2 separate regions of the Homo sapiens genome follow, and region 1 is linked to region 2. The links are contacts of gene promoters, found by promoter capture Hi-C in blood cells and fetal thymus (Javierre and others, 2016). All regions are on one chromosome and are shown on one strand. The core of a region is centred on a gene start or on the middle of the fragment in contact, and the rest is flanking DNA. Distances in the headings are between cores, read along the strand shown. Region 1 overlaps CEP89 (centrosomal protein 89). Region 2 holds the start of TDRD12 (tudor domain containing 12).

Region 1 (6,582 bases), core at 662-3,161, 220 kb after region 2:
TGTGGGCAGCACCTGAAGGCACCAGGGTGAGGAGAAAACCGAGGTCACATAGGACCTTAAGAAGGAAGAGCAAGAAAGTGGGGTGGAAACCAGCGCTGTTCCACGGGGAGATGTGCTCCGAAAGGTCACAGGAGGTGAGGCTCCCATGGGCCCTGGCCAGCGCACCTCCCAGGGGAGGGAGAGGCGGAAGCAGAGCTTCCACACAGACGAGGGCAGGATGGCTGGTGGCTCCAGAGAGCCTGGCCCAACCTCTGACACACACATATCCAATCCCTAACATGCAAAAGGTGAGGCTCAGAAATGGGAAACTCCACAGCTACATAGAAACAAGGGAACCCTGAGAAATCCCAGAGATAAAACAGTTGAGATGAGAATGAAGATGGGTGCCAAGCCTGAAATGTGCCAAGAGAGGGCAGCTAGAAAATGGGGAGGGGTGGCTCCAGGGATACACCTTGCCCTGGTAGGAGTGGAGACACAAAGTGGCCTAGAAAGAGCTGATGAGGCTGGGCCTGGTGGCTCGCACCTGCAATCCCAGCACTTTGGGAAGCTGAGGCAGGAAGCTTGCTTGAGGCCAGGAGTTCGAGACCGGCCTGAGCAACATAGCAAGAGCCCATCTCTACAAAAATCAATCAATAAATAAAATTATATTTAAAAAGAAGCAGCTTGAAGCAGCTGATGAGCTGTTGAGTTAGATAACCAGAGTGGGAATAGCAAGGGGTTAACCCACCTGACCCAGGCAGCAACAGCAGAAATGTGTGCCCCTCCTCAGGCAGAACACACAGGCCCTGAGGGCAGAAAGGCAGGGCAGGGGGCTGGAGAAAGCCAGGAGGAAGAGGGGTCCCCACGGATCCCGGTGGGCCTCACATCCTGTCCATCCCCATCAGTTGCTGGAGGCAGCAGTCGGTACAGCCTGGCAGCCTGCTGGCTCTCCCTCTTCAGGCAGGGTGCAGTAAACAGAGGTAGCATCCCCATGTGGGCCACAGGGAATCTCAGAGACCCCAAGAGGTATCAAACAGCAGAGCCAGAGAACACCAATGGCAAGTGAGAGAAGAGAAGGGGCTGCAACACAAACCCTAAGACTGGATGCGCATGGTTACAACTTTCAGAGAGACGTAGTCAGTGTCACAGAAATCATGGAAGTTAACGTTTGATTAACACCATAAACTGAAAGGATGGGCTGAGCCGCAGGATACACATCATGAAAAATGAATGCATGGCGCAGAAGTTGGAGCCCCAGCAATCGCCCAGAATACAGCATTGAAAATGCTGAGATTGAAAGGGTGCAAATAAAGTTAATCTGACGCGGAGGAGACTTAAACCAGGATTTTCAGAGCAGTGACACTGATGGCAGCAGTGGCCCATCTAGAGTGGCCACCGCACAGACTCTAGAGCAGGGAGGTGTGGCCCAAGCCTCTTGCTCCATGGAGCAGGCAGGAGCCCCGGCCCTCCCTGGGTGCTGCTGCAGCTGCCCAAGCCCGGCTGCAGACCCGAGAATCTCTGTGTTCTTGGGGGCCCAAGAAGGCCCCCACCACCCACCATAGGCTCCGAAGTGCCTGATCCCACTGCCTGGCTTCACCCCACTGTGGGCACCTGCTCCAGAGGTATGGTCAGGGCTGCATGCTCCACAGAGCCATCAGGAGCCGGGGACAAGCGGGAGCCCTGCCCCTTCTGAGTTGGTGGGGCAGGAGCTCATGGGGTGCTGCTACAGTTGCCCTCCCATGTGTAGGACCTGGGTGTCTCTGCAGTCTGCACCCTCGGGGGCCTGGGAAGGCTCCCGTGTCCCCGCAGGCTTATGGGTGTTTGCTCTAGCTGCCTGGTCTCTCCCTGCTCCTGGTGCCTGCTCCAGTCTTGCAGCAGGGTTGGAGCGGGGTTTAGGCCAAGCCTGGGCACTGTCACAGCCTGGCTGGGAGTGTGCATACTCAGGGCAGTACTGACACGACAGCGCCCTGCCGCCTCAGCCCCCTCCAGACTTTGGGCACCCATGAGCACAGGAGGGAAAGACAAGGGGGTGCTGAGGATGGCTCTGCACTGGCCTGCAGTTGCCCCTTGGTGTGAGCAGCCTGGGTGCCATGGACTGGGCAGCAGGAGGGAGACAGGTTCCTGGGCAGAAGCAGGCAGGTCCCCGGTGAGGCCCCGCCTTCAGGTCGGAGAGGGCCTGAAGGCTGGGGACCGGGTTGCCTGTCCCGTGGGACTGCAGTAGGAACTTATGGTGCCTTTTCCAGGCCCACCCATGGCCACCCATGGACCAATCGGTGCGCACTTCCTCCCTTCTGAGGCCCATAAAAGCCCTGGGCTTAGTTGGAGCAGAGCAGATGAGATGACCAGCTGCAGAGAGGAGTTCCCCTCTCTGCTGATAGCTGGAGATGTCAGAGGACCAGCAGCAGAGAGGAGCAACCCACTCCAGGGCCTCCTCTCTACTAGGAGCTGGTCAGAATAACCAGCTGCAGAGAAGAACAACCCTCTCCAGGGCTTCCTCTTTGCTGAGAGCTGCAGAGACAGTTGGGTGACCTGCCTTCAGAGAGGAGCCATCGACTCCAGGGGACCTCCTCTCTGCTGAGAGCTGAACACTTAACGGGACGACCTGCCTACAGAGAGGAGCTACCCACTGTGGGTCTCCTCTGAACTGTTCTAACATGCAGTAAAGCTCCTCTTCGTCTTGCTCACCCTCCACTTGTCTGCTTACCTCATTCTTCCTGGACGCAGGACAAGAACTCAGGCAAAGGCACACTGGCACCACAGACATTTCCGACCAGAAAAGCGACACCCCAAAGATCTTGTAACAATGTGGGACCTAACAGCAAAAATTATAACCTCCATTTTGGAAGCCACTGAAGCTCCCCAAACTGTTCAGGGGGCATAACCCATAAAGCATCTCTAGACCTCTCCCTCTGCCTTCAGCCTCAGAGCAGAGCCCATAACTGCACCTGCCTTCCCAGTACGGATCCCAGTACATCATGGGTCCACTCCTCCCACTGGGATCCCAGCACATCCCACAGGTCCTCCTTCCACCCCCAGGATCCCATTACATCCCACAGGTCCACCTCCCTTCCCCCAGGATCCCAGCATATCCCACAGGTCCACGTCCCCCCAGGTCCAACCCCCACCCTCCCAGGACCCAAGCACATCCTGTATGGACATACGTCCACTACCTAGTGTTTGGACCCTCTCTTTTGAGGCAAGGGTGAAAGTTCAACAACTAATACAAGAAAAAGAAAATGTAATCTTTATTTTCAGATAAAATTAATCTGGATATTCTCCAAAACAAGCTTTTCAATCATAATATAATTCAAAAGGCAAATACCTGGGGAGGGTGGAGGTTTCTCACATAATGGAGGTTTTTCATCCTAGGAAAGAAAGAACATAAGAGGAATAAGTGCAGAGCATTAGTGTTTTATAAAGTGGACACACGCAGCTAGGTCATTAGACAGCAGGTATATAAGCATGCTTTATTTCCTTCATTTTGACTCTTGTTCTTTGTTTGTTTTAGCTTTCAAAACTTTAATATGTACTATTTCTTTTTTTCCTTTTTTAAGACAGGGTCTTACTCTGTCACCCAGGCTAGGGTGCAGTGGTGTGATCGCAGCTCACTGCAGCCTCCAACTCCTGGGCTCATGAAATCCTCCTACCTCAGCCTCCCAAGTAGCTGGGATTACACATGGGCCATCACACCTAATTTTTTTTTTTTTTTTTTTGTAGAGATGGGGTCTCCTGTTGTCCAGGCTAGCCTTGAGCTCCTGGGCTCAAGGGATCCTCCTACCTTGGTCTCCCAACATGCTGGGATTACACTGTTTCTTATACCTGAATCTGAGACCTTAAGTGTCTTCCCCTCTGGTGGGCTCTCTGAGGCTATAAAGGAAGTCCTGCCTGAGCTTTCTTCCTGCCTTTCTGCACTGAGTTCAGTGACTGTCCTTACAGGTAGATCCCGTGAGTAGCGGGCTGTGGGCTCACGTTGAAAAGCATGTGCTAGGTAGGGCTGCAAGTGCTGAGCAGAGATGCCCTCAGCAAACTCCAGCCAGGCCTCTTCTCACTGGGATGGGCAAAAAGGACCCCATCAACTGCAGGGAAGCACATTTGCAAAATGCTGAGAAAGGAACAGTAAGATATTGCTTCTCAACCCCAAACCTAGAGGAAAGGGAAGGCTGTGAACTTTTGTTAATTTTTCCTTACATGGTGGTGTGATATTAAGTTTCTAATTTCTGCTGACAAAGTAGACAAGGTTATAAATTAACTCTGCAGAGAAATGTTTAATTTTTAAGTTCCTATGACATCGCACAATGAAAAACTTAAGTTAGAACTATTTCCATGTTTGCAAATTAGTTATTAAAATTCTCAGGCCAGGCCAGGTGTGGTGGCTCACACCCGTAATCCCAGCACTTTAGGAGCCCGAGGCAGGTGGGATCGCCTGAGGTCAGGAGTCTGAGACCAGACTGGCCAACATGGTGAAATCTCATCTCCATTAAAAATACAAAAATTAGCTGGGCATGGTGGCATGCACCTGTGGTCCTAGCTACTCGGGAGGATGAGGCAGGAGAATCACTTGAATCCAGGAGGCGGAGGTTGCAGTGAGCCGAGACTGCGCCACTGCACTCCAGTCTGGGTGACAGAGCAAGACTCCATCTCAGAAAAATATCTCAGGCTAGGCACGTCACATCATGCCTGCAATCCCAATGCCCTTGGGAGGCCAAGGCAGGAGGATCGCTTGAGCCCAGGAGCTTGAGACCATCCTGGGCAACATAACAAGACCCCATCTCTAAAAAAAAATTTTTTTTTAATTAGCCAGGAGTGGTGGCATGTGCCTGTAGTCCCAGCTACTCAGGAGACTGAGGCAAAAGAATCACTTGATCCCAGGAGATTGAGGCTACAGTGAGCTATGATCACACCACTGCACTCCAGCCCGGGTCACAGAGGGAGATCCTGTCTCAAAAAATAATTTTAACAAAAGATAAAATTGTCTATTCATTCCACATTCATTTTAATTATAAAGTAGTTTCTAACCCTTTAATACATTACTTTCATCATTAAACTATGGAAAATATCAATTTCCTCATGTTTTAAAAGTATTTAAGGCCAGGCACAGTGGCTCATGCCTGTAATCCCAGCATTTTGGGAGGTCGAGATGGGCAGATCACTTGAGCTCAGGAGTTTGAGACCAGCCTGGGTAATATGGTGAAACCCCATCTTTATCAAAAATACAACAAATTAGCTGGGTGTGGTGGCATGCATCTGCGATCCCAGCTACTCGGGAGGCTGAGGTGGGAGGATCGCTTGAGCCTGGAAGACGGAGACCGCAGTGAGCTGAGATTGCGCCACTGCACTCCAGTCTGGGTGACAGTGAGACCCCCTTCTCAAAAAAAAAAAAAAGCATTTAAAAGAAATATTCAACAGGAAAGAACTCTTAAGGGAAGATTTATTTTTGCCCCAAAATCACCGCCAAAGTTTCAACACCAAAGTTGTTGAAAATTTATGAAAAATTATGATAAAAACTCTATTTATTGAGAAAATCAGTTTTTAAAAAAAATGATCTTACCTTTAAATTCAGAACAGGGTGTTTACCATCTGATGAAGAAAAAGAGAGAGAGATAAACTTTTAAAGTAGATAATGAAATATGACAACTCAGAAAGTACAATCATAGAAATTCACCTTCTACAGAGGAGCTCGACAAGGCCCAGAACAGGGATAAAATTCACAGGGTCACAGGGCAAGTGGGTCCCAGAGCCAGGCTGGGGCCTGACTCTAAATTGTCATCTCTCTCCCATACCCATGCCTGACCACCATCCGTGGCTCACGTGGCTGCAGAACCAAAGCCAAACTCTTCAGTGTCTCCAAGCCCTTCCCATGCCAGGCTTCTCCTCTCCTTCCAACACCCCTCCCCATCACTCTCCACACATCTTCCCATGCCGGGCTCCTCCTCTCCTTCCAACACTCCTCCCCATCACGCTCTATACATCTTCCCATGCCGGGCTCCTCCTCTCCTTCCAACACCCCTCCCCATCACTCTCCACACATCTTCCCATGCCGGGCTCCTCCTCTCCTTCCAACACTCCTCCCCATCACGCTCTACACATCTTCCCATGCCGGGCTCCTCCTCTCCTTCCAACACTCCTCCCCATCACGCTCCACACATCTTCCCATGCCGGGCTCCTCCTCTCCTTCCAATACTCCTCCCCATCACGCTCCACACATCTTGCCCACCACTCCCTGGATGGGCCAACGCATACTCCTATTGGCCTACCCTCCCTAGATGCATCATCCAACCTGGTCAGAAAAATAGTTGTTCCTTGAAGCAAACTGTCTCAACGACAGAGAGGAAAACAAATCTCACCCACTTACTCATCTTCCACACATCTGTAATCCAGGTACCCTAGGAAGCAGGTGATCTTACACCCCAGTTTGCCTGTACACATTCATGTTGTAAAAAGTTGGACATCGAGTTGCTTTTTTTTTTTTTTGAGACGGAGTCTCACTCTGTCCCTCAGGTGGAGTACAATGGTGCAATCTTGGCTCACTGCACCCTCCGCCTCCCAGGTTCAAATGATTCTCCTGCCTCAGCCTCCCAAGTAGCTGGGATTACAGGCATGCGC
Region 2 (6,572 bases), core at 3,207-5,706:
GCAATACAGGTGTGAGCCACTGCGCCTGGCCTGTATGTTGTTGTTTTTAATCTGAGTGAACCTTGTCTCCTTCCAAGAATTCCTTTTGGGAGACTTGTCACATGACTTCCTACCTATAGTGATATCTTGCCCATACCCCATAACCCCAAATAATATGAGCTGAAAAATTAAGTTTTAGAATTCAGATTACTGGTGTTCATGGCATTTATGACACACAGTTTTTCTTTTCTTTTCTTTTTGAGACACCTTCTCGCTTTGTTGCCCAGGCTAGAGTGCGGTGGTGCGATCTTGGCTCACTGCAACCTCTGCCTCCTGGGTTCAAGTGATTCTCCTGCCTCAGCCTCCCAATTTGCTGGGATTACAGGCATCAACCACCACACCCAGCTAATTTTTGTACTTTTAGTAGAGACAGGGTTTCACCATTTGACCAGGCTGGTCTCCAACTCCTGACCTCAAGTGATCTGCCCGCCTCAGCCTCCCAAAGTGCTGGGATTACAGATGTGAGCCCCTGTGCTGGGTCAGAAATATTTTTAAAGTTAAAAACAAAATTCGGCTGGGCATGGTGGCTCACACTTGTCATCCCAACACTTTGGGAGGCCAAGGTGGAAGAATCGTTTGAGCCCAGGAGTTCAAGACCTGCCTGGGCAACATAGGGAGACCATGTCTCTATAAAAAAATTCAAAATTAGCTGGGTGGGCCAGGCACGGTGGTTCACGCCTGTAATCTCAGCACTTTGGGAGGCTGAAGTGGGTGGATCACAAGGTCAGGTGTTTTGAGACCAGCCTGGTCAATATGGTAAAACCCCGTCTCTACTAAAAATACAAAAATTAGCTGGGTGTGGTGACACATGGCTGTAGTCCCAGCTACTTGGGAGGCTGAGGCAGAAGAATTGCTTGAACCCAGGAGGCGGAGGTTGCAGTGAGCTGAGATCGTGCCACTGCACTCCAGCCTGAGTGACAGAGCAAGACTGTCTCAAAAAAAAAAAAAAAAATTAGCTGGGTGTAGTGGTGCATCCCTATAGTTTTATCTTCTCAGGAGGCTGAGGTGGGAAGATACTTGAGCCCAGGAGATAGAGGCTGCAGTGAGCAGCGATAAGATTGCGCCACTGTACTCCAGCCTGGGCAACAGAGCGAGACCCTGTCTCAAAAAAAAAAAAAAAAAGCACCATGAGACAGGGTGAAGAAAAAGGAAGCCTTGTGAATCTTTAAAAAAGTGTTTTCCGCTAGCACCAGAGTTGGAGGAGGGCAGGTTACAGTACAAATGCGGACCCCTTTTAACCTTGGGGAGACTGGGTGGCTGGACCCCCAGGGCAGTGAGTGTCTTGACTATGGGAGTGTAATATATAAATATTTCCATTTTCTGTGAGCCATGTTGTAAAAAGATTGGGAAATACCGTACTGTAGCACAGGATCTAGTCAAACAAAAAAGTGTCTCCCCACACCAAGAACTGGGAGAAGTCTATATTACCCATTTTTGTGGATTGGGAACTGTTTTGGGACTTCCTATTTAAGATGGGGTTTTGCTATGTTGCCAAGGCTGGGCTCCAACTTCTGGCTCAAGGGATCCTCCCATCTCACCCTCCCAAGTAGCTGAGACTACAGGCACATGTCACTGCACCTGGCTACAAGACCTCCTGTTTATTTTATTTTATTTTATATATTTTTTGAGACAGAGTTTTGCTCTGTTGCCTAGGCTGGAGTGCAGTGGCATGATCTCAGCTCACTGCAACCTCTGCCTCCTTGGTTCAAGCGATTCTCCTGCCTCAGCCTCCTGTGTAGCTGGAATTACAGGTGCTTGTCACTATGCCCGGCTAATTTTTGTATATTTAGTAGAGACAGGGCTTCACCATATTAGCCAGGCTGGTCTCGAACTCCTGACGTCAAGTGGTCCACCCACCTCGGCCTCCCAAAGTGCTGGGATTACAGGCCTGAGCCACCTCGCCCAGCCAGGACCTCCTGTTTAAATCAGATCCTGTCATTTTCCATCTCTTTTTGGCAAGGTCTTGAGCTTTCAGGTGAGTTGGCCATACCAGGTGCCTTGATTGGAGGGGAGGCCTTGTCAACCTAATTTCAGGAACAGGTGAACATCACGCACTTTGCAGCTGTGTTTTTCTCCCGACTGGCAGCTACACACCTTTCCTCTGCAACCATCCTGCCTGAGAGTTTAAGTGCATGTTATCTGTGGGACCTCGTGCAATCCAGTTTTCTTATAGAACTGCATGCTTATGTGAGCATTCTGTTCCCCAAATAATAACTCCACAGTTTCCATGCTCTCTCCAAACTCTTGCAGTCTTTTGTCATCTTGTTGGTTCCCTTACTAGCAAATTAACTCGTTTAGACTCGGAGAGCCCTGCCAGTTGAAGTCCAGCTGGGAAGAAATCCAGGACCAGGAACCTTTCCAAAAGGTGCAGATCAAATGGAAATGTTGCCAGGAGGCCACGAAGACCCAGGGATTCATGACTGTCCAGGACTCTTCCTCACCACCAAGGCTTCCAGCTCACAGCGTTTAAGGGGTGTAGGCTGGCCTAGAGAAAGCAGGAGGACAGGGGCCCCTTAGCAGGCAACAAGGACCAACTGAGGGCCTGGTGTGGTGGTTCATGCCTGTAATCCTAGCTGCTCAGGGGGCTGAGGCGGAAGGATGGCTTGAGCCCAGGAGTTCAACACCAGCCTGGGCAACACAGCGAGACCCCCATCTCTACAAAAAAATTAAAAAATTATCCAGGCGTGGTGGTGCATGCCTGTAGTCCCAGCTACTTGAGAGGCTGAAGATGGAGGATCAACTGAGCCCAGGAATTCAAGGCTGCAGTGAGCCATGATTGTGCCACTGCACTCCAGCTTGGGCAAGAGAGCCATATCCTGTCTCTTTAAAAATAAAATAATGAACTTGTAACCACCTAATGGGTTCACCTTGCCCGCTGCCTAGACAGAGCCAATTTATCAAGACAGGGAATTGCAATGGAGAAAGAGTAATTCACGCAGAGCCGGCTGTGTGGGAGACTGGAGTTTTATTATTACTCAAATCAGTCTCTCCGAGCATTTGAGGAACAGAGTTTTTAAAGACAATTGGGCGGGTAGGAGCTTGGGAAGTGGGGAGTGCTGATTGGCCAGGTTGAAGATGGAATCAGAGGTTGTTGGAGTTTTTCTTGCTATTTACTCTTCCTGGTTGGTTTGGCAGAACTGGTTGAGGCAGATTATCGGTGTGGGTGGTGTCAGCTGATCCACTGAGCTGATTCAAGGATTGTTGTCTCATGCCTCCCTAAAATGTAAAAGACCAAGTGAGGCAGGAAAATAGGGTCTGGAGGTAGGGAACATAAGGCCGATTCACGCTTCAGCTATAAGGGGAAATACCCTCTCCATAGGGCATACACCGAGTAAATGACTTCGTAACTTTACTTCACCGTCTTCATTTACATCGGGCGTACCCCAAGCAGAAGGTATTTAAATTCACAGAAATTCTGCCGGGCCTTTGAGTCCCTGTGTTCAGGCCTGCTCCCACACTGTGGAGTGTACTTTTTCAATAAAACCCTTCATTCCTTCCTTGCTTTGTGTGTGCCTTTTGTCAAATTCTTTCTTCAAGACACCAAGAACCTGGACACCCTCCAACTTTAACACAAGCTGTGCCTCGACCACGTCTAGCAAATGTCGTTAGGACTTCCTGTGTCAGGGGCGCCTGTCCTCAACCTTGGCAAAATTTTTTGTTTTGTTTTGTTTTTTGAGACAGAGTCTCACTCTGTCGCCCAGGCTGGGGTGCAGTGGCCTGATCTCAGCTCACTGAAACCTCTGCCTCCCGGGTTCAAGCGATTCTCCTGTCTCAGCCTCCCAAGTAGCTGGGATTAGAGGCGCTCCCCACCATGCCAGGCTAATTTTTCTATTTTTAGTAGAGACGGGGTTTCACCATGTCGAGGATGCTAGTCTCCAACTCCTAACCTTATCAGGTGATCCGCACCCCTCGCCTCCCAAAGCGCTGGGATTACAGGCCTGAGCCACCTCGCTCTGCTGGCCAAATAAACTTTCTAAATGAACTGAGACCTATCTCACATTTTCAGGATTCACAGGCTCTTATCAATTTTGTTTCAGAGTCAAACCATGGACTGAATTCCTTCCCAAGGTTAGTTGGGCTTCCGCCCAGGAATAAACAAGGACAGCTTAAAGGTTAGAGGCAAGATGGAGTTGATTAGGTCTGATTTCTTTCACCATCACAATTTCCTCAGTTACAATTTTGCAAAGGTGGTTTCCAACGGACTCAGCCGCACGCGGCCCCTCTGTCCCTCCGGGGGACAGGCGAGTGTCCCTGGGGCCTGCAGGGCAGTCCTGCTGGCTGCAAAAGAGAGAATCACGCGACCCCTAGCCGGGCCTCCCAGGGCCTCCGCGCGTCAGTCCTCCTGGCCACCGCGTGGCGCTGTGCCTTACGTTGTTGGGCCGTTGGGTGGACCACGTGGTCTCCGACGCCTCAAGGCCTGCTCAGCGTGCGCGGGCATCCGGTGGGTGCGGGAGGCCCGAGGCCAGGCAGGCAGGGATCCCGCAGCGAGGGGCTGGTTACTGCCAGGACGGAGCGCATTGCCTCGAGCCGACCCCGGGGTCCGCGAGGGCTCCTGGGGACGAGGAGTGTGGGGCACCTGCCGCGGGGGGCCCAGGCGCTAAAGGTGGAGGGAAGGAACGCACTCGCGGCGGGGGCCTGGCCGGGGCGGACGCAGCCAGCCTCACCCGCGACGGTAGGGGACTTCCAGGGCGAGGGGGCCCATCTGCCCTCGGGCGCCAGGAGGATGCTCCAGCTCCTGGTGCTGAAGGTGAGCGCCGCCAAGCCAGACCCACGCCAGACCCACGCAGTCCCCCACCCCCACCCCAGCCGCGCACAGCCTCCCACCCCCACCCCAGCTCCGCACAGCTTCCTACACCCACCGCAGCCCCGCACAGCCTCCCACCCCCGACCCCAACCCTACACAGCCCCCACCCCTCCCCCCATCCCAGCCTCCACATCCCTCCACACCCACTCCTCCCAGCCCACGCATCCCCCCCATGTCCACTCCCTCTCAGCCCACACCTACTCCCCACGCCCACTCCTCCCCCAACCCACACATCCTCCCACACCCACTCCCACCCAGCTCCACCCCCACACTCACACATGCCCCCACCCCATCTCACTGCTGCACACTCCATCCCACTCCCACACATCCCAACCCCGTATATCCCATGCCGCCACACCACGCCCCCACTCCCACCCCACTCCCACCCCAACCCATCCCACTCCCAACCCCACACACCCCCAACTCCTACCCTAGCCCCAGCTCCCACCCGTTTCCTTATCGCTGCCCACCCCACAGTCACACCCTCGCCCCTGTCCCCACCCCATCCTTATTCCCACCGCCCCCACTCACACCTCCACCCCAACATTTCATCCCCCCACACTCAGCCCCACACACCCCACCACCACCCCATCTCCACTCCCACCTGCACCCCAGCCGCAGCCCACCCCACCTCCACTCCAACCCCACCCCGCCCTCCCCCACCTGAACCCTCCCTGCGCCCCCACCAGGGGGCACCCCGGGCTGGGAGCTGGGGTAGAACCCGGATGAGCCCGGGTTTCACGGGCCCTGGCGTGCTCCGGGATGCACCTGGAGGAGCGCGGAATTGGTTGCTCCTCCGAATGCTCGATCACCCGGGCCAAGCGACACTGGCGTCCCCAGGGCCCCGCTCTCCGTACTCCACGGGGCCCTTAGGCTCGGCGCCTGGACAGGGTCGGGTGGCCCGGGCAGCCCCAGCCCATGGGTCCGGGCTTCCCTCATGCCCCCAGTCTCTGTTGCCCTATCCGCTCACCGCGTGGGCTCTGCGTGGGCGTTGTTCTAGTCCTCGGGGAAGGGACGCCCGCCTGGACCCTTGCTTTTCCCCCTTGGAGTCCAGTGAGGGCTCATTGGTGAAGGGGAAAGCGTTGCTGGAGGAAGGAGTTGACAGGCCAGAGCAGAGGGGTGGGTATGGGTTATTGGAGAAAGGAAATCTAAATACTTTGAAAATCACACTTCAGTGGGCCCAGGAGCTGGACGTAGCAGATTGTGGGATTGTTTTATTTTATTTTATTATTTATTCATTTATTTTTTTGAGATGGAGTTTCGCTCTTGTTGTCTAGGCTGGAGTGCAGTGGTGTGACCTCAGCTCACTGCAACCTCCGCTTCCCGGGTTCAAGTGATTCTCCTGCCTCAGCCTCCCGAGTAGCTGGGATTACAGGTGCCTGCCACCACACCTGGCTAATTTTTGTATTTTTAGTAGAGACAGGGTTTCACCACGTGGCTGTTCTCGAACTCCTGACCTCAGGTGATCCACCTGCCTCCGCCTCCCAAAGTGCTGGGATTACAGGCGTGAGCCACCGTGCCTGGCCTATTTTATTTTATTTTATTTTATTTTATTTTATTTTATTTTATTTTGAGAAGGAGTCTTGCTCAGTCACCCAGGCTGGAGTGCAGTGGCGCGATCTCAGCTCGCTGCAAGCTCCGCCTCCCGGGTTCACGCCATTCTCCTGCCTCAGCCTCCCAAGTAGCTGGGACTACAGGCGGCCACCACCACGCCTGGCTAATTTTTTTT

What was found. Contacts are between HindIII fragments. The CHiCAGO score rates a contact against its expected background, and 5 or more counts as called.
Region 1: a contact is called between a fragment that was not itself captured here and the fragment with the promoter of TDRD12 in region 2, in 4 of 17 cell types (naive CD4 T cells, total CD4 T cells, non-activated CD4 T cells and 1 more). The highest score is 8.8, in naive CD4 T cells.

The regions. Positions count from the first base shown.
Region 1 is chr19:32,934,330-32,940,911 of GRCh38, forward strand. CEP89 (centrosomal protein 89) reads right to left here. Exons shown (of 19, transcript NM_032816.5): 6 at 5,528-5,556; 7 at 3,302-3,344. Among named protein-coding and RNA genes, the nearest start is that of CEP89, 34 kb to the right of the region's middle. RefSeq lists enhancers at 1,290-1,791, 1,792-2,291. The HindIII fragment of the contact is 2,706 bases long and covers 559-3,264 here.
Region 2 is chr19:32,715,311-32,721,882 of GRCh38, forward strand. TDRD12 (tudor domain containing 12) reads left to right here and starts at 4,457. Exons shown (of 33, transcript NM_001366102.1): 1 at 4,457-4,786. The coding sequence starts at 4,763. The HindIII fragment of the contact is 20,000 bases long and covers 1-6,572 here.